Linked DNA regions of Homo sapiens: all the other regions are linked to region 1. The links are contacts of gene promoters, found by promoter capture Hi-C in blood cells and fetal thymus (Javierre and others, 2016). All regions are on one chromosome and are shown on one strand. Each heading gives the region's core, a stretch centred on a gene start or on the middle of the fragment in contact. The rest is flanking DNA. Distances are from core to core; before and after follow the strand shown. Region 1 holds the start of MRPS24 (mitochondrial ribosomal protein S24). Region 2 overlaps C7orf25 (chromosome 7 open reading frame 25). Region 3 holds the start of TMED4 (transmembrane p24 trafficking protein 4).

What was found. The method cuts DNA at HindIII sites, captures the fragments that hold promoters and counts their contacts. A CHiCAGO score of 5 or more calls a contact.
Region 2: a contact is called between a fragment that was not itself captured here and the fragment with the promoter of MRPS24 in region 1, in 3 of 17 cell types (naive B cells, naive CD8 T cells and total B cells). The highest score is 6.7, in naive B cells.
Region 3: the fragment with the promoter of TMED4 here is called in contact with the fragment with the promoter of MRPS24 in region 1 in 1 of 17 cell types (non-activated CD4 T cells); the score reaches 5.0 in non-activated CD4 T cells.

Annotation. Positions count from the first base shown.
Region 1 is chr7:43,866,672-43,871,649 of GRCh38, reverse strand. MRPS24 (mitochondrial ribosomal protein S24) reads left to right here and starts at 2,133. Exons shown (of 4, transcript NM_032014.3): 1 at 2,133-2,193; 2 at 2,274-2,342; 3 at 2,576-2,687; 4 at 4,668-4,978. The coding sequence starts at 2,155. The coding sequence ends at 4,951. It overlaps URGCP-MRPS24 (URGCP-MRPS24 readthrough), which reads left to right. Exons shown (of 7, transcript NM_001204871.2): 5 at 2,274-2,342; 6 at 2,576-2,687; 7 at 4,668-4,978. The coding sequence ends at 2,664. It overlaps LOC124901620 (a long non-coding RNA gene), which reads right to left and starts at 2,004. Exons shown (of 2, transcript XR_007060296.1): 1 at 816-2,004; 2 at 8-702. RefSeq lists an enhancer at 1,652-1,771 and silencers at 2,002-2,061, 2,362-2,421. The HindIII fragment of the contact is 8,402 bases long and covers 1-4,978 here.
Region 2 is chr7:42,905,858-42,910,835 of GRCh38, reverse strand. It overlaps C7orf25 (chromosome 7 open reading frame 25), which reads left to right. Exons shown (of 2, transcript NM_001099858.2): 2 at 1-1,563. The coding sequence ends at 1,201. Among named protein-coding and RNA genes, the nearest start is that of C7orf25, 3.7 kb to the left of the region's middle. The HindIII fragment of the contact is 1,035 bases long and covers 1,449-2,483 here.
Region 3 is chr7:44,579,804-44,584,781 of GRCh38, reverse strand. TMED4 (transmembrane p24 trafficking protein 4) reads left to right here and starts at 2,551. Exons shown (of 5, transcript NM_182547.4): 1 at 2,551-2,735; 2 at 2,959-3,059; 3 at 3,208-3,333; 4 at 3,543-3,689. The coding sequence starts at 2,576. RefSeq lists an enhancer at 2,068-2,177 and silencers at 2,268-2,427, 2,828-2,927. The HindIII fragment of the contact is 9,471 bases long and covers 46-4,978 here.

The sequences.
Region 1 (4,978 bases), core at 884-3,383:
TATAAAAGTCATTTTAAGTAATTTTAATCATGTAAAGACCGACACGTCCCCTTTCCCCCAATCACAGTATAAACAAAGCTAATAAAGGATAGATAACAAGATATTTGAACCCCAGAAATGTCTGCCACTGAAATGGCCATTGTGATGCTTGGAAAGATCTAGATCGGTTTGGAATTCCAGAGAGAGATCTCAGGCATAAGGGAGAATGGCTTGAATAGAGGAAAGCATAAATTTGATCATTTGATTGCCTACTGCTTTATGGGCTAAACTTGATTCCCAACCACAGCCTTCGTGGTGTGGCCCCTGCCCACCTTGGGCCCCAATAGGTGTTGTGCCATTGCCACCTCTGCCTCTGATCAGCCCAAGGATCTTGTTTCCCTTTCTCCTTCCCCTTTCCTCTGATTAGGGTGGTGTTGCTATGAGTTCTCACAGAACCCTCAATAGCTGGCTCATCTCCCTAACGGGATATGTGGCTATCAGGGACTCGTTAAAAACAACAACAAAACCCACAACTGCTCTCTCCCTCTGCCAGGCACATCATACTGTACTTCTCACAACCACCATTATTGTCCCCAGTTTACAGATGAGAGAAACCGAGGCTCAGAAGGTTCAGTCACTTGTCCAAATTACACAGCCAGGAAGCATTGGGTCCACGATTTGGACTCAGGCAATTCAGATGCCACATCCCATGTTCCTCACCACCTTGGAGCAAATTAATGAAACTTAACAATTATAAAATTATTGAACATTATGAAAACTTTAAAAAATAATTGTCAGTTGAAAAGGATTTCTTAGGAAATGTTGAAAGTTCTTACATTTGCAAAGTATGCATTGGAGGGCACCTCATCCCTGTTCTGTCCCTTTATTCAATATGCATAACAGTTGGGGGCCGCAGTTCCTAAAAAGTAAGAATAAAACATTTCTGGTGAAGTGGACATGGAAGACCTTGTCCTTTTATTACGGGTTTTTTGAGAACCCACCTTCATGTAATCAGAGGAATCTTGGTCATGGGAAATGGGCTGGACTGAAGTCAAGAGACTTGTGTCTTGGTCCCTCTTTCCCTCTTCTCAGTGTGGTCATGGGCAACTCATTTCCACCGTTCTTCCATTTCCCCTTCCCATGGATCATAATCCAGTCCTCCCCCTGACAGGAAACCGCAGCAGTATGCAAGTACTGTACCATTAAGGGGAATGATGTAGACCCAGAACGGCCAAAACATTGGCAATTTCACATCACTCAACCAAACACAACCCATCATTGATTAAATATTCTCTTGATCCTAATAGCTCTATAAGGTAGTACTATTATTAAGGCCCATTTTATAGATAATAGAACTGAGTCTTAACTGTACAAAGATTGTTATACATGGGTCTGACTCCAGAGCCCGTGTTTTTTCCATGACCGTGGTGACTTCTAAAATAAAATATCCCGCGTTGCTATTTTTCCGTTTGACATTAATAATTACTGGATACCAATAATAGTGGCGACGCACTGGTTTCAGCATTACAGGCCCTGCGATATTCTCACGAATCTCCTTGCCCTCCGGCCCCTTCCCCGTACTTAAAATTTTCCTTCCTCAGGGGCCAGTCACCACTGTGGTCACATGTGGCAAACCCATTCTTGCATAACTGCGTAAGTCATCCTTGAAGAATTGGGTGACGTTTTAACCAAAATATGTTTCTTCTTTATTTGTGGATAAAAGTCTGGAGGGTTTTTCTGTTTTGTTTTTCTACGAATATTATTTGGAGGCATAACTAGGACCTGGGGAAACGCTTGGCTCCTCTTCGAGCCCCGAGGGTGCAGGTTGGGCAGGGCGGGCTCCGGTGGGCCGCACACCCATCACCCGTACTAGCGTGAGGTTGTCGAAGAGAAAATCTCACGTTTCGCATCCTCAAATTTCCGGATCTGAAACCCTATGCAAGCAGCAACCGCGGGAGAGCGAACAGCGGCGGGATGAGCATTCACAAGGCTGAGCATTCACAGGGCTGCGGGGAAGGCGGGAGTAACAGCTAGCAGCATACCGCGGCCCCGCCCCGCAGAGGCCCTGCCCCGCCCCCGCCAGAGTACAGAGTACGAGCTCCGACTTGGTCTCGTCCGCGGTCGTCCCCACCCCTCAGCGCGCTGTGGTACGTCCCGCGCTCCGCTTGGCCCAAGATGGCGGCCTCCGTGTGCAGCGGGTTGCTGGGGCCACGGGTGAGTGGGGCGACTCGGCAGGTCCCTGCGAGTCGGAGGTGGGGTCCCTAGTTTCCGCCTCACGCGCCCTCCCTCCACAGGTGCTGTCCTGGAGCCGAGAGCTGCCTTGCGCTTGGCGCGCCCTGCACACCTCCCCGGTCTGCGCCAAGGTGAGCACCGCCGGGGCAGGGGCCTGGGGGCCTGGGGGCCGGGGGGCCGGGGGCCGGGGAAGCCGTGCGGGCTGAAGGGGGCGTGTCGCTGGGGTCCGAGGCGGGGCTAGGGTCGGGGCTTAGGGATCAGGGGATTGGGGCCGGGGAACAGTGCCAGCTGACTGGGGGGACATGGCGCGAAGTAGGGGTCTGGATCGGGGATCTCGTGGAGTCACGGCCCCTTTTGCTCCTAGAACCGGGCGGCCCGAGTACGCGTAAGCAAGGGGGACAAGCCGGTGACCTACGAGGAGGCACACGCGCCGCACTACATCGCCCACCGTAAAGGCTGGCTGTCGCTGCACACAGGTGAGCGGACCCCAGGCCTCCAAAAGGAGCACTCAATCCGACTGTCATGTAAACAAAATGAACACGTGTCACAGGTTTTCTTTAACTCAGGAAATAATGCTAGGGTCAGAAATCTATGAAACCAACTCAAGGGAGACATAAAAAAGCAGAGATATATATAGATCAGGATGTTGAAACAAATTTGAAGATGGATGCAAAACTGACTTTTTCCATGGCAGGCAGGGACTCAATTGATCCTCCACTGAACAGAAATTATTTGCATGTCTACAGACAAGAATTATTTTGCATTCCTGTCAGTTATCTGTAATTTACAGAGCTGTAAAATAGCTCAGAGTCAAGGAAAGGAGTGAAACCGTTGCAGAATCTGATAACCCTGAACAGTGTGCTCTAAGGAATGCAGTTTTCCACTAAAGCACAAATTTTTCTCTGTAAATATATACAGACAACCCTCGTTATTCATGAATTCCATATTTTCAGATTCTTCTACTGACTAAAATTTATTTGTAAGCCCCAAATCAACACTCTGGGCACTCTCAAGGTCACTCTGAGATGTGGGTGGAGCTGCCACCCCAGGTGCATGTCCCGAGCTGAGGTCGACAAGGCTCTGCCTAGTTTCAGCTCTCGTACTGTAAAAGGTGTCCTTTTTATGGTCTAGAATCTTTTTTTTTTAATTTGCATTTTCGTGCTTTTTGTTAGTGATTTTGCTGTTTAAAATGGCCTTGCAATGCTGAAGTGCTATCTAGTGTTCCTAAGCGGGAGAAGGCTGTGACGTGCCTTAGGGAGAACATACATGTATTAGAGAATCTTTCTTCAGTCATGAGTTGCTCTTGGCCCTGAATTCAATGTTAGTGAATCTACCATATATATTAAACAAGGTGTCTTTAAACAGAAACACAAAGGAAACTAGGTTATGTATTGATTTGTTAACAAAAATACGGTGCCCAGAGGCTGAAAGGAATCTAACCCTGTATTTCACCTAGGAGCAATGGTTCAGTATTCACTAAGTCAGTGTTGGCAGTGACTTTATAGAATATAACTATTGTGAACAATTGATAACCAACTGTGCTTTGTTTAGTACAGGGGTTCTTGGATGTTTGAGATGCATCTAGAGAACTTACTTAAAATACAGATGCTTGCCTGGCACGGTGGCTCACGCCTGTAATCCCAGCACTTTGGGAGGCCGAGGAGGGTGGATCCTGAGGTCAGGAGTTCAATACCAACCTGGCCAAGATGGTGAAACCCCATCTCTACTAAAAATACAAAAAAATTAGCTGGGCGTAGTGGCGGGCGCCTGCAATCCCAGCTATTCAGGAGGCTGAGGCAGAGAATTGTTTGAACCCAAGAGGCGGAGGTTGCAGTGAGCCGAGATCACGCCACTGCACTCCAGCCTGGACGACAGAGTGAGACTCCATCTCAAAAAAAAAAAAAAAAAAAAAAAAAAAGAGAGAGAGATGCTTGTCTCCCACTCTTTCAGGTTCTGGTCTGAGGTTTGGATGTAGGTGTGCAGACTCTTAGTGGACATTGTAAGGGCTGCAGGGGATCCACAGTTCACACTGAGGAACCCACTGGTGGAAGCCCTGGGCCTAGCTCATGTCCCTAATCTCAAAAATAGCTGGTAGCCTCATCTTTCTGGCCCATGGGATGACCAGTGTTTTTATAAGGCAGCCAAGAAAGCAGGAAAGGGGCTAGATGTGGTGGCATCATCTTGAGTTTTGTACCCTGACTCAGGCCTCCATCTTCCTTTTTGTAAAATAAGGATAATGATAATACCTACTAAACTGAATTGGCTTGGGAATTAATGACATAACATACTTTGAACTTTAAAGTGTTATTTTTCTTATTCCATTAGCAGAAGAAAAGAGAAGAGGCTGGGGGTGAAGGGTGGGATTGTGCTCAGCGCTTTTGGATGTTGACTCTGGAGTTATGGCAGGGCCCTGGGGCAATGAGGCTGATTCTTCTATTATGCCCTTCCCTCTTCAGGTAACCTGGATGGAGAGGACCATGCCGCAGAGCGAACGGTGGAGGATGTTTTCCTTCGCAAGTTCATGTGGGGTACCTTCCCAGGCTGCCTGGCTGACCAGCTGGTTTTAAAGCGCCGGGGTAACCAGTTGGAGATCTGTGCCGTGGTCCTGAGGCAGTTGTCTCCACACAAGTACTACTTCCTCGTGGGCTACAGTGAAACTTTGCTGTCCTACTTTTACAAATGTCCTGTGCGACTCCACCTCCAAACTGTGCCCTCAAAGGTTGTGTATAAGTACCTCTAGAACAATCCCCTTTTTTCCATCAAGCTG
Region 2 (4,978 bases), core at 717-3,216, 960 kb after region 1:
ATCACTTTCTAGATCAAGAAAAGGTGGCATAGAAGGTGGTGCAAAGCTGTGCAGCAAATTGAAGGCAGAATTAAAATTCTTGCAGAAAGTAGAAGCTGGGAAAGTAGCTATTAAAGAGTCTCATTTACAGAGCACTAACCTAACACACCTGAGAGCCATTGTGGAATCAGCAGAAAACCTGGAAGAAGTTGTTAGTGTTCTTCATGTCTTTGGTTATACAGATACCTTAGGAGAAAAGCAAACCCTTGTGGTAGATGTAGTTGCAAATGGTGGTCATACTTGGGTGAAAGCCATTGGCCGGAAGGCTGAAGCTCTTCATAACATCTGGCTGGGCAGGGGCCAATATGGTGACAAAAGCATCATTGAGCAGGCTGAAGACTTCCTCCAGGCCAGTCACCAGCAGCCAGTGCAGTATAGCAACCCTCACATCATCTTTGCATTTTACAACAGTGTCTCCAGCCCCATGGCAGAGAAGCTGAAAGAAATGGGCATATCTGTGAGAGGAGACATAGTAGCAGTCAACGCTCTGTTAGATCACCCTGAAGAGCTTCAACCAAGTGAGAGTGAATCAGATGATGAGGGCCCTGAACTTTTGCAGGTGACCAGAGTTGACCGAGAAAATATACTAGCAAGTGTTGCGTTTCCAACAGAAATTAAGGTCGATGTGTGCAAAAGAGTAAATCTGGACATTACTACTTTAATCACATATGTATCTGCCCTCAGCTATGGAGGCTGCCACTTTATTTTCAAAGAGAAAGTGCTCACAGAACAAGCAGAGCAAGAGAGGAAAGAGCAGGTTCTACCTCAGCTGGAGGCCTTTATGAAGGACAAGGAGTTGTTTGCTTGTGAATCTGCTGTCAAGGACTTTCAGTCTATTTTAGATACCTTAGGAGGACCTGGGGAGAGAGAGAGGGCCACTGTGTTAATTAAGCGAATTAATGTGGTACCAGACCAGCCTTCTGAGCGTGCCTTGAGACTAGTGGCCAGTTCAAAAATTAATAGCCGCTCATTAACAATTTTTGGGACGGGAGACACCCTAAAAGCCATCACAATGACTGCTAATAGTGGTTTTGTCAGAGCTGCAAACAACCAGGGTGTTAAATTTAGTGTGTTTATCCATCAGCCCAGAGCACTTACTGAGAGTAAAGAGGCTCTAGCCACCCCCTTACCAAAAGACTACACAACTGACAGTGAACACTAAAGATACCCTTTAAATATTTTTGTGGAAGTAAGTTATTTATACCAAAGGCTGGGTCTTCCCATCTAAACTGGTGGGAAAAAAGGTCTATAGTAAAAGTAAAACTGAGAACTCTTAAACCAGTAGAGTTTCTTTGTCTCTCATCTAAAGTATATAACCTCCCAAAGTAGAAAAAGCACAAGAGAGAAGCTTATCTATCAAACTGTCTGCATTAGTGCAATTAAGAACCGAAATACGTCTATATAAAGCTTTCAGCTGTATTGTAATACTTTGATTCGATAGGGCTACAACTCCCCTACTGCTAACCACATTTCATGGAATATGGCTACATTGCATCTTGCATTAAATATCTGGAGAAAATTCAAGCCTGTTTTTCATTGTATTGCTTTATATGGTTTAGGCTGGGAGGTAGTCGTTGGTAATCAATTTTAGATTCTAAGGTTAACCATTAATGAAAAACTTATTTGCTGTATGTCAGGTGCAGTCTGATAGGTGTTTTTACAAAAAGTACATAATACAGAAGAAATGAGAAAGTGAATTATGGTTATTTGAGTGCCATGAACCCATTGGTAGACCTTTGTGAAAAGAAAGCCAACAATCTTACTACTATAAGATAAAACCAGGACACTTAAGGTAAAATACTAATTTGAATGAATTGAAAAAGGATTATGTAAAAGATTTTAAAAATTCAATACAGAAAGCCCCCATATTATAAGTATTTGAACAATAAATACTATTTTCATGTTTCATTTGCAAGTGGCAAGTGACAACTGCATTACCTTACTTTCATGAGATGGTGACAGAATATTCCATGCCAATTCCATGACACAAGTTGTAGTTAAAAATACACTTCTATGGCTACATTGCGCTAGATACTTTATCAGTTTTCAATAAAGCAAAACTAGCAAAGTCGGTATGTATTCACCACATTTAAAAATTTGGAATTTGAGTCCTGGAGCTTAAATATTAACTCATGCTAAGTGTAGGAGCTGGTATTAAAACTTGATGTTTCTAGCCACAGTCTGATCTCTTTCTACCATGCCAAATGTCGTATTTGTTGAGAAGAGAATCTCAATTTACAGCCACAGTGTTTGTTGGGGTGGAATTTGGTTATTGGCATTCATGAACACCCTGAAATGAATGCAAAATTAAGTGTATGGGGGTGGTTCTCTGGGGAGAGATTGCTTTACTAAGTCAGAATACATTTTCTAGTAGAAAGGCTGTGATTTGCTTCCAGTTTAGTGTAGAGTGGTATATGTCTAGTGTTAGAAATGGAATTTAAGCTTTTTGAGCATCTATTAAGGTCATGTAGTACTTGATACTATTAAGTACCAAGCATTATAATAGTTTGGTGTGAAAAGATGAATGTTTGCTCTAAGGAATTCTTAAGTCTAAAGTGGAAGTAAACAACTGAAGTGCAATTAAATGTACTAAATTCTCTAGGATATGTTGAAAATACTATGGGGACAGAGTAAAGGAGTACTTGTTATGGGGCCAGGAAGTCAGAGAGGAAGTGTTGTTTGAGGGTTTGGGGTGTGAAATTTCACAAGATGTGTGAGAAAGGGTACTCAAAAGTACATGGAGGAATGGGATTGGAAAAGTACCAGAACTGTGACTATGAGGACCTGTTCAGGGACCAGGCTCAAGTGGACAGTTTATAAAACAAGATGGAGCTAGAAAAAAAAGTCAAAGTTCTCTAAAGAGTTTGGCATTAGAGAGCCATTGGTGATTTTTAAGAAAGTGTGGCTTATGATCAGGTCTCTTAAGGAAACCACAAAAATCTGTAGTGTGGATAAAAATTGAAAGAAAGTTTGGACTATAATGACCTTAGCTAGAGCAGGAATGATGGACTGTAGAGTCATGGATACATGTTGGATTTGTTTGAGGCAGAATTGACATATTAATGTACTCATTCGTTTAATAAGCATTGAGTGACAGCCATGTGTCAGACACAGTACAAAGGGCATGGCATATAAAAGACTTGTTTTAAAGGAGCAGAAAGAAGGTAGATTTCTATCCCTGCTCCCTATGAATCAATCAATACCTAAGAACTTGGGATCTTTGCCAACTAGAAAGTGGACAGGCCACAGCACTCTTTAGGAAACTGCTTTGTGAAGTGACCACAGCTGTGCCCTGCCAAAGACCATGATGTTTTTTCAAGCATTCCAGTGATTGCAACTCCTAACAATGTAATAAATAATGCAAGCAGTACATATGCTCAAGTAGTAGGGCACTGGATCCTGGAATGTAAGAAATAGCACCTTCCCTAGAGACCACACACATGATCTACACTGTCAAGGTCTATTCCAGCTGGCCAAAACATTCCTTTCATAAAGGTAAAATATTAGACAATAAAGGCCGGATGTGGTGGTTCACACCTGTAATCCCAAAACTTTGGGAGGCTGAGGGGCAGATCACCTGAGGTCAGGAGTTCAATACCAGCCTGGCTGGCATGGTGAAACCCTGTCTGTACTAAAAATACAAAAATTAGCCAGGCATGTTGGTGGGTATCTGTAACCCCAGCTACTCAGGAGGCCGAGGCAGGAGAATCACTTGAACCTGGGAGGTGGAGGTTGCAGTGAGCCGAGATCACGTCATTGCACTTCAGCCTGGGTAACAAGAGCGAGGCTACATCTCAAAAAAAAAAAGAGACAATAAAAACAATGAGGGAAGTTATAAAAGGAATGTTCAATTAAATATCAGTTAACTGGTAAGTCAAAGGAATCACAGAGCTATAGCTATAAAGCAAACAAATGTCCAAATAGTTCTAAAGTGTGAAGATACGTAATAAACTGTCGTTATGCCTGGGAATTGGAAGTGGTTGAGGAAAGTAAAAGCATGCTAAAAATCCTCATCTTACTTAGAGTCAACAGACACTTTGAAATTTTGCTATTGAAAAATAGAGCTATTTAGTTTTGAGTGTCAAACAGGAAATATAACTGATAGTATAAATTAAACCAAGCTGAATAGCTGAATAAATTCCAAACAAAAGGTGAGGATGGAGAATAAATGTAGTCCATATAGAAAAAGACAGGTCAGGCTGGGCGCTGTGGCTTACACCTGTAATCCCAGCACTTTGGGAGGCTGAGGCAGGGTGGATCCCTTGAGCCCAGGACTTCAAGACCAGCCTGGGCAACATGGCAAAACCCCGCTCTACAAAAAATACAAAAATTAGCCAGGCATGGTAGTGCACTCCTGCAGTCCCAGGTACCAGGGAGGCTGAGGCAGGAGGCTCACCTGAGCCTGGGAGGTCAAGGCTGCAGTGAGTTTTGGTTGTACCACTGTACTCCAGCCTGGGCAACAGAGTGAGACCCTGTCTCAAAAAGAAAAAGATAAAAGAATTGTGAATGAGGCATAAAAAGCAGAAAGCATAAAATAAGAGTGCTAGCTGCAAGCACAGGAAGGATATAAAACAGCTTTGGAGGGAGATATATAGATAATTGTGATATACTGGGAAATCTCATTGGAACAGATGACTGTTTCAGGAAATGTAAATTAGAATTGAAAAATAGCCTAAATAAGCAATAACCATTTAAAAAATTGTTAAAGAAGTTAAGTAATTTCTCCAAAATATGTGCAGATGCAGTTAACTTTATTAGACAAGTTTTTTCCTACTTTTAAATACCGAATAATCCCCGTGCTCTAAAAGGTAATATGGAGCATAACCCCGTAAGTGGGGTTGAAATGTAACATGGTAAGATGTGTTGTTCCTCTTACTCCCTGTCCTCTGCCCCAAGAGGAGAACTTTGGCCTGCTCTCCTGTTTGAGAACAGGGCCTGG
Region 3 (4,978 bases), core at 1,302-3,801, 710 kb before region 1:
ATTAGGTACGGGGGTCTATGCAAGGGAGGGCCTGAAGATTAAGCTTCATTAGTTTCACTGTAAACCTCCCCTGACTCTAGAATTAACTGTGATTACAGGACATACCAGGGACAAAAAACGTTAAATGACACCTGAAGATACAATCAGCAAAACCCAGAAAGTGGAAAATTCTGTTGGTCAAATGACCCAGTTTCTTCAATAAGTAAATGCCATGAATAACAAACAACAAAAAGAGAGGGGAAATTTATATATATAATATATATATAATATGTATAATATATATATATGTTGTTATATGGTTTGTTTTTTTTTTTTTGGACACGAGTCTCTCTCTCACCCAGGCTGGAGTGCAGTGGCATGATCTCGGCTCACTGCAACCTCTGCCTCCTGGGTTCAAGCGATTCTTCTGCCTCAGTCTCCCAAGTAGCTGGGACTACAGGTGAGCACCACCACACCCAGCTAATTTTTGTATTTTTGGTAGAGGTAGGGTTTCACCATATTGGCCAGGCTGGTCTCGAACTCCTGACCTCGTGATCTGCCCACCTTGGCCTCCCAAAGTGCTGGGATTACAGGTGTGAGCCACTGCGCCCGGCCCTGTTTTTGTTTGTTTTGAGATAGAATCTCACTCTGTTGCCTAGGCTGGAGTACAGTGGCATCATCTCAGCCCACTGCAACCTCCACCTCCCTGATTCTAGCAATTCTCCTGCCTCAGCCTCCCAAGTAGCTGAGATTACAGGTGTGCACCACCACACCTGGCTAATTTTTGTATTTTTAGTAGAAACAGGGTTTCACCATGTTGGCCAGGCTGGTCTCAAACTCCTGACCTCAAGTGATCCTTCCACCTCAGCCTCCCAAAGTGCTGGGATTACAGGCATGAGCCACTGTGCCCAGCCAAAATTGTTATATATTAAGAGACATATATTTGTATGAAATGCAGTAAGTAAACCTTGTTTGGACCCTAAATATCTAATGTACAAAATTTTTTAAGGCAATGGGGAAAATTAAACACATACTAGGTATTAAGTGATGTTAAATAATTTTTAAAATTTTGGTGGGTGTGATAATAGTATAAAGTCCTTATCTGTTAGAGACACACACTGACGTATTTATAGGTGAAATGACATGATGTCCAGGATTTGCTTTAATATACAGCACTTCAAAAAAAAATGCAGAAAGGGATACATGAAATGAGAAAGGCAGCAAACTGTTGTTGAAGTTGGATGATGAGTACAGCCCTCCGTTATTATCCAAGGGGGATAATTCCTGGACCCCTACGGATACCAAAATCCAGGTATGCTCAAGTTCTTTATGAAAGTTCATTGTAATTATTCTATTATATAAAAGTTTCGAAATTCTGTTGATAAAATGTATTTTTAGTAGAGACGGGGGTTTCACCTTGTTGGCCCAACTGGTCTCGAATTTCTAACCTCAGATGATCCACCAGCCTTGGCCGCCCAAAGTGTTAGCATTACAGGCGTGAGCCACCGCGCCCGCCTGGCCTTGATAAAAACAGTTTTAACCTTCCGTTGCTTCGATTCCATGCCCACTAAGTAACATTCCAGTTTGTTTTTCACTTTCAAAAGGATGTGCTGTAACTAGGGGATGTAAACAAGCTCCATGACCCTACTTATTCCAAGTTTTCGTTCCACTCTCCCACCTTTTTTTTAAGACAAGGTATCACCCTCGGTCGCCCAGGCTGGAGCGCGATCACTGCTTAATGCATCCTCGACCTCCTGGGTTCAAGCGATTCTCCTGCCTCAGCCTCCCAAGTAGCTGGGACTACATGCGCACACCACCACACCGGTTAATTTTTTGTAGAGACGGGGGTTTCACCATGTTGCCCAGGCTGGTCCCGAACTCCTGGGCTCAAGGGATCCGCCCGCCTCAGCCTCCCAGAGTGCTGGGATTACAGGTGCCAGCCACCGCGCCCGGCCCCAGCTTCTTAAAAGAATGATCCGAAACTATGGCAGCACTGGGCTTTTGGTCCCCACCCAAGAAATGCCCGCTCGCAGAGGCTCGCCGCGGCAGGCTCTCCCGACGTGACAGAGTGTGGGTCTGGATTCAGCCTCGGTTCTTACGAGTCAGATAGGTGGACACGCAAAGCAAAACATCACAGGGCTTTTTGTATTTAGCACAGAAAACACTTGTGAGCCCGAGCTGAGAACCCAAAAGGCACGCTTCAGGCCATCGTAGCCACCAAGCCTGGTCAGATTCCGTCCACCGTCTCCTTGGTGCTCCGAGACCCAAATCGCTGACTGGGGCCGAGGGCGGGCGTGACTGCGCAGGCGTGCCTCCCCTGCGAGATGCCGGAGGTAAGCTGCGGGGTAAGGGGCGAGAAATTAAGGGCGAACGTCATTGCGCATGCGCCCTCTACTCTCGTTGCGGGGGTAGGCGGGCGCCGGGCTGTGTGAGGGGGCGGGGCGCGGCAGTGTTCGGTACGGATGGAGTTGCAGGAGACGGCGAGTACATATCACTGCGCAGGCGTCCTCTTCCCCTAACTCTCAGGGTCGCTAGGGTGGCGCGCAGGCGCAGAGCGATGCGCAAATGTGCGCAGGCGCTTAGGGGCTGAGGCGCGATGGCAGGTGTCGGGGCTGGGCCTCTGCGGGCGATGGGGCGGCAGGCCCTGCTGCTTCTCGCGCTGTGCGCCACAGGCGCCCAGGGGCTCTACTTCCACATCGGCGAGACCGAGAAGCGCTGTTTCATCGAGGAAATCCCCGACGAGACCATGGTCATCGGTCAGGCGGGCTGAGGGTGGGGAGGCCCTTTGTACCCAGCTCAGCCCTCGGCGGCGCTCCCTCCTCCCGAGCCCAGCCGGGTCGCTGGCTCCCCCAGTACCTAGCCTGAGGGTGCCCCGAGGACGCCAGGCCCCCTGCCTAGAGCTCCGGGCCGCACGTCGGAGGGGGCCGGGCGGAGAGGCGGCCCACTAGGGCCGGTCGTGACTATGTGTCTGCCCCGCAGGCAACTATCGTACCCAGATGTGGGATAAGCAGAAGGAGGTCTTCCTGCCCTCGACCCCTGGCCTGGGCATGCACGTGGAAGTGAAGGACCCCGACGGCAAGGTAAGGCTGGCGTTGGCCCACGCAGCCGTTCTTCAGTGGAGCTCCCGTGGGGTGTAAAGCACTGCCTGGAGGAGGCCTCAAGGGACAGGAACTTGCACTTGGAGAGCCTGCGGTATAAAGGTGGGGCCTTCACTCACATATGTTGCAGGTGGTGCTGTCCCGGCAGTACGGCTCGGAGGGCCGCTTCACGTTCACCTCCCACACGCCCGGTGACCATCAAATCTGTCTGCACTCCAATTCTACCAGGATGGCTCTCTTCGCTGGTGGCAAACTGGTAAGAGGATTTTCTCTTTGGCTTCAGCTTAGAATCTCTCACTTGTTTCCAAATTTTGATTTATCAAGATTGTGAAACTTTGTAGCACAGTCAGAATTGGGGAGACAGATGTTGCCTTCTGCTCCACAGCCAGGGACAATAGTGGGTTCCATACCCTGGAACAGACAACTGGAGGCCCCACCACTCATACATTCCATGTTTCCTTGTAGCGGGTGCATCTCGACATCCAGGTTGGGGAGCATGCCAACAACTACCCTGAGATTGCTGCAAAAGATAAGCTGACGGAGCTACAGCTCCGCGCCCGCCAGTTGCTTGATCAGGTGGAACAGATTCAGAAGGAGCAGGATTACCAAAGGGCAAGTGCATATCTCCTTGTAATTTGAGAGGGCAGTTGACCTTTATACCCACTATACCTACTCAAGTTTCTGCTTGGGAGATCAGCTCTGCAGAGAATGGAATGAGAAGTATTGGTTTAGATAGGTTGTTTGTTTGTTGTTTTTGAGACGGAGTTTCACTCTTGTTGCCCATGCTGGAGTGCAATGCCATGATCTTGGCTCACTGCAACCTCCGCCTCCCCAGGTTCAAGCGATTCTCCTGCCTCAGCCTCCTGAGTAGCTGGGATTACAGGCATGCGCCACCATGCCTGGCTAATTTTGTACTTTTAGTAGAGACGGGGGTTTCTCCACGTTGGTCAGGCTGGTCTCGAACTCCCGACATCAAGTGATCCGCCCGCCTCAGCCTCCCAAAGTGCTGGGATTACAGGTGTGAGCTACCGCGCCCTGCCTGTTTTGCTTTTTTATCAAAACATTTTATTGTGGTAAAATATAACACCAAATGTGTCATTTTAACTGTCTATATAGTTCAGTGGTATTAAGTGCCTTCATAATGTTGTGCTACCAACACCATCATCCAGCTCCAGAACTTTTTCATCTTCTCAAACTAAAAATCTGTACTTATTTTGTTTTGTTTTTGAGATGGAGTCTCGCTCTGTTGCCCAGGCTGGAGCGCAGTGGCGCCATCTCGGCTCACTGCACCCTCCGCCTCCCAGGTTCAAGCGATTCTCCTGCCTCAGCCTCCCAAGTAGCTGGGATTACAGGCAAGTGCCACCATGCGTGGCTCATTTTTGTGTTTTTAGTAGAGACTGGGTTTCACCATGTTGGCCAGGCTGGTCTTGAACTCCTGGCCTCAGGCAATCCACTGCCGCAGCCTCCCAAAGTGTTGGGATTACAGGCGTGAGCCACTGCACCCAGCAAATCTGTACTTATTATAAACAATAACTTCCCGTTTCCTTTTGTCCTGACACCCACCATTCTACTTTCTGTCTCTATGATCCTGACTACCCTATCTCATATAAGTGGAATCATTCAGTATTTGTCCTTTTGTGACTGGCTTATTTCACTGAGTATAATGTTCTCACAGTTCATCCATGTTATAGCATGTGTCAGAATTTCTTAAGGCTAATATTCCATTGTATGCATGTGCCACATTTCGCTTTCAGTAGTCATTTTTAAGCTCTATAAAATAAAATGAAGAAAGGACAGTTCACAATCTAGTAATAGCCATTGCCTACCTGTTTTTCTTGGACTCTTGTTGGAAATGGTAGGATCATGATTTCAGTCCTAACAGAGATGCTTGTGGAGGGACA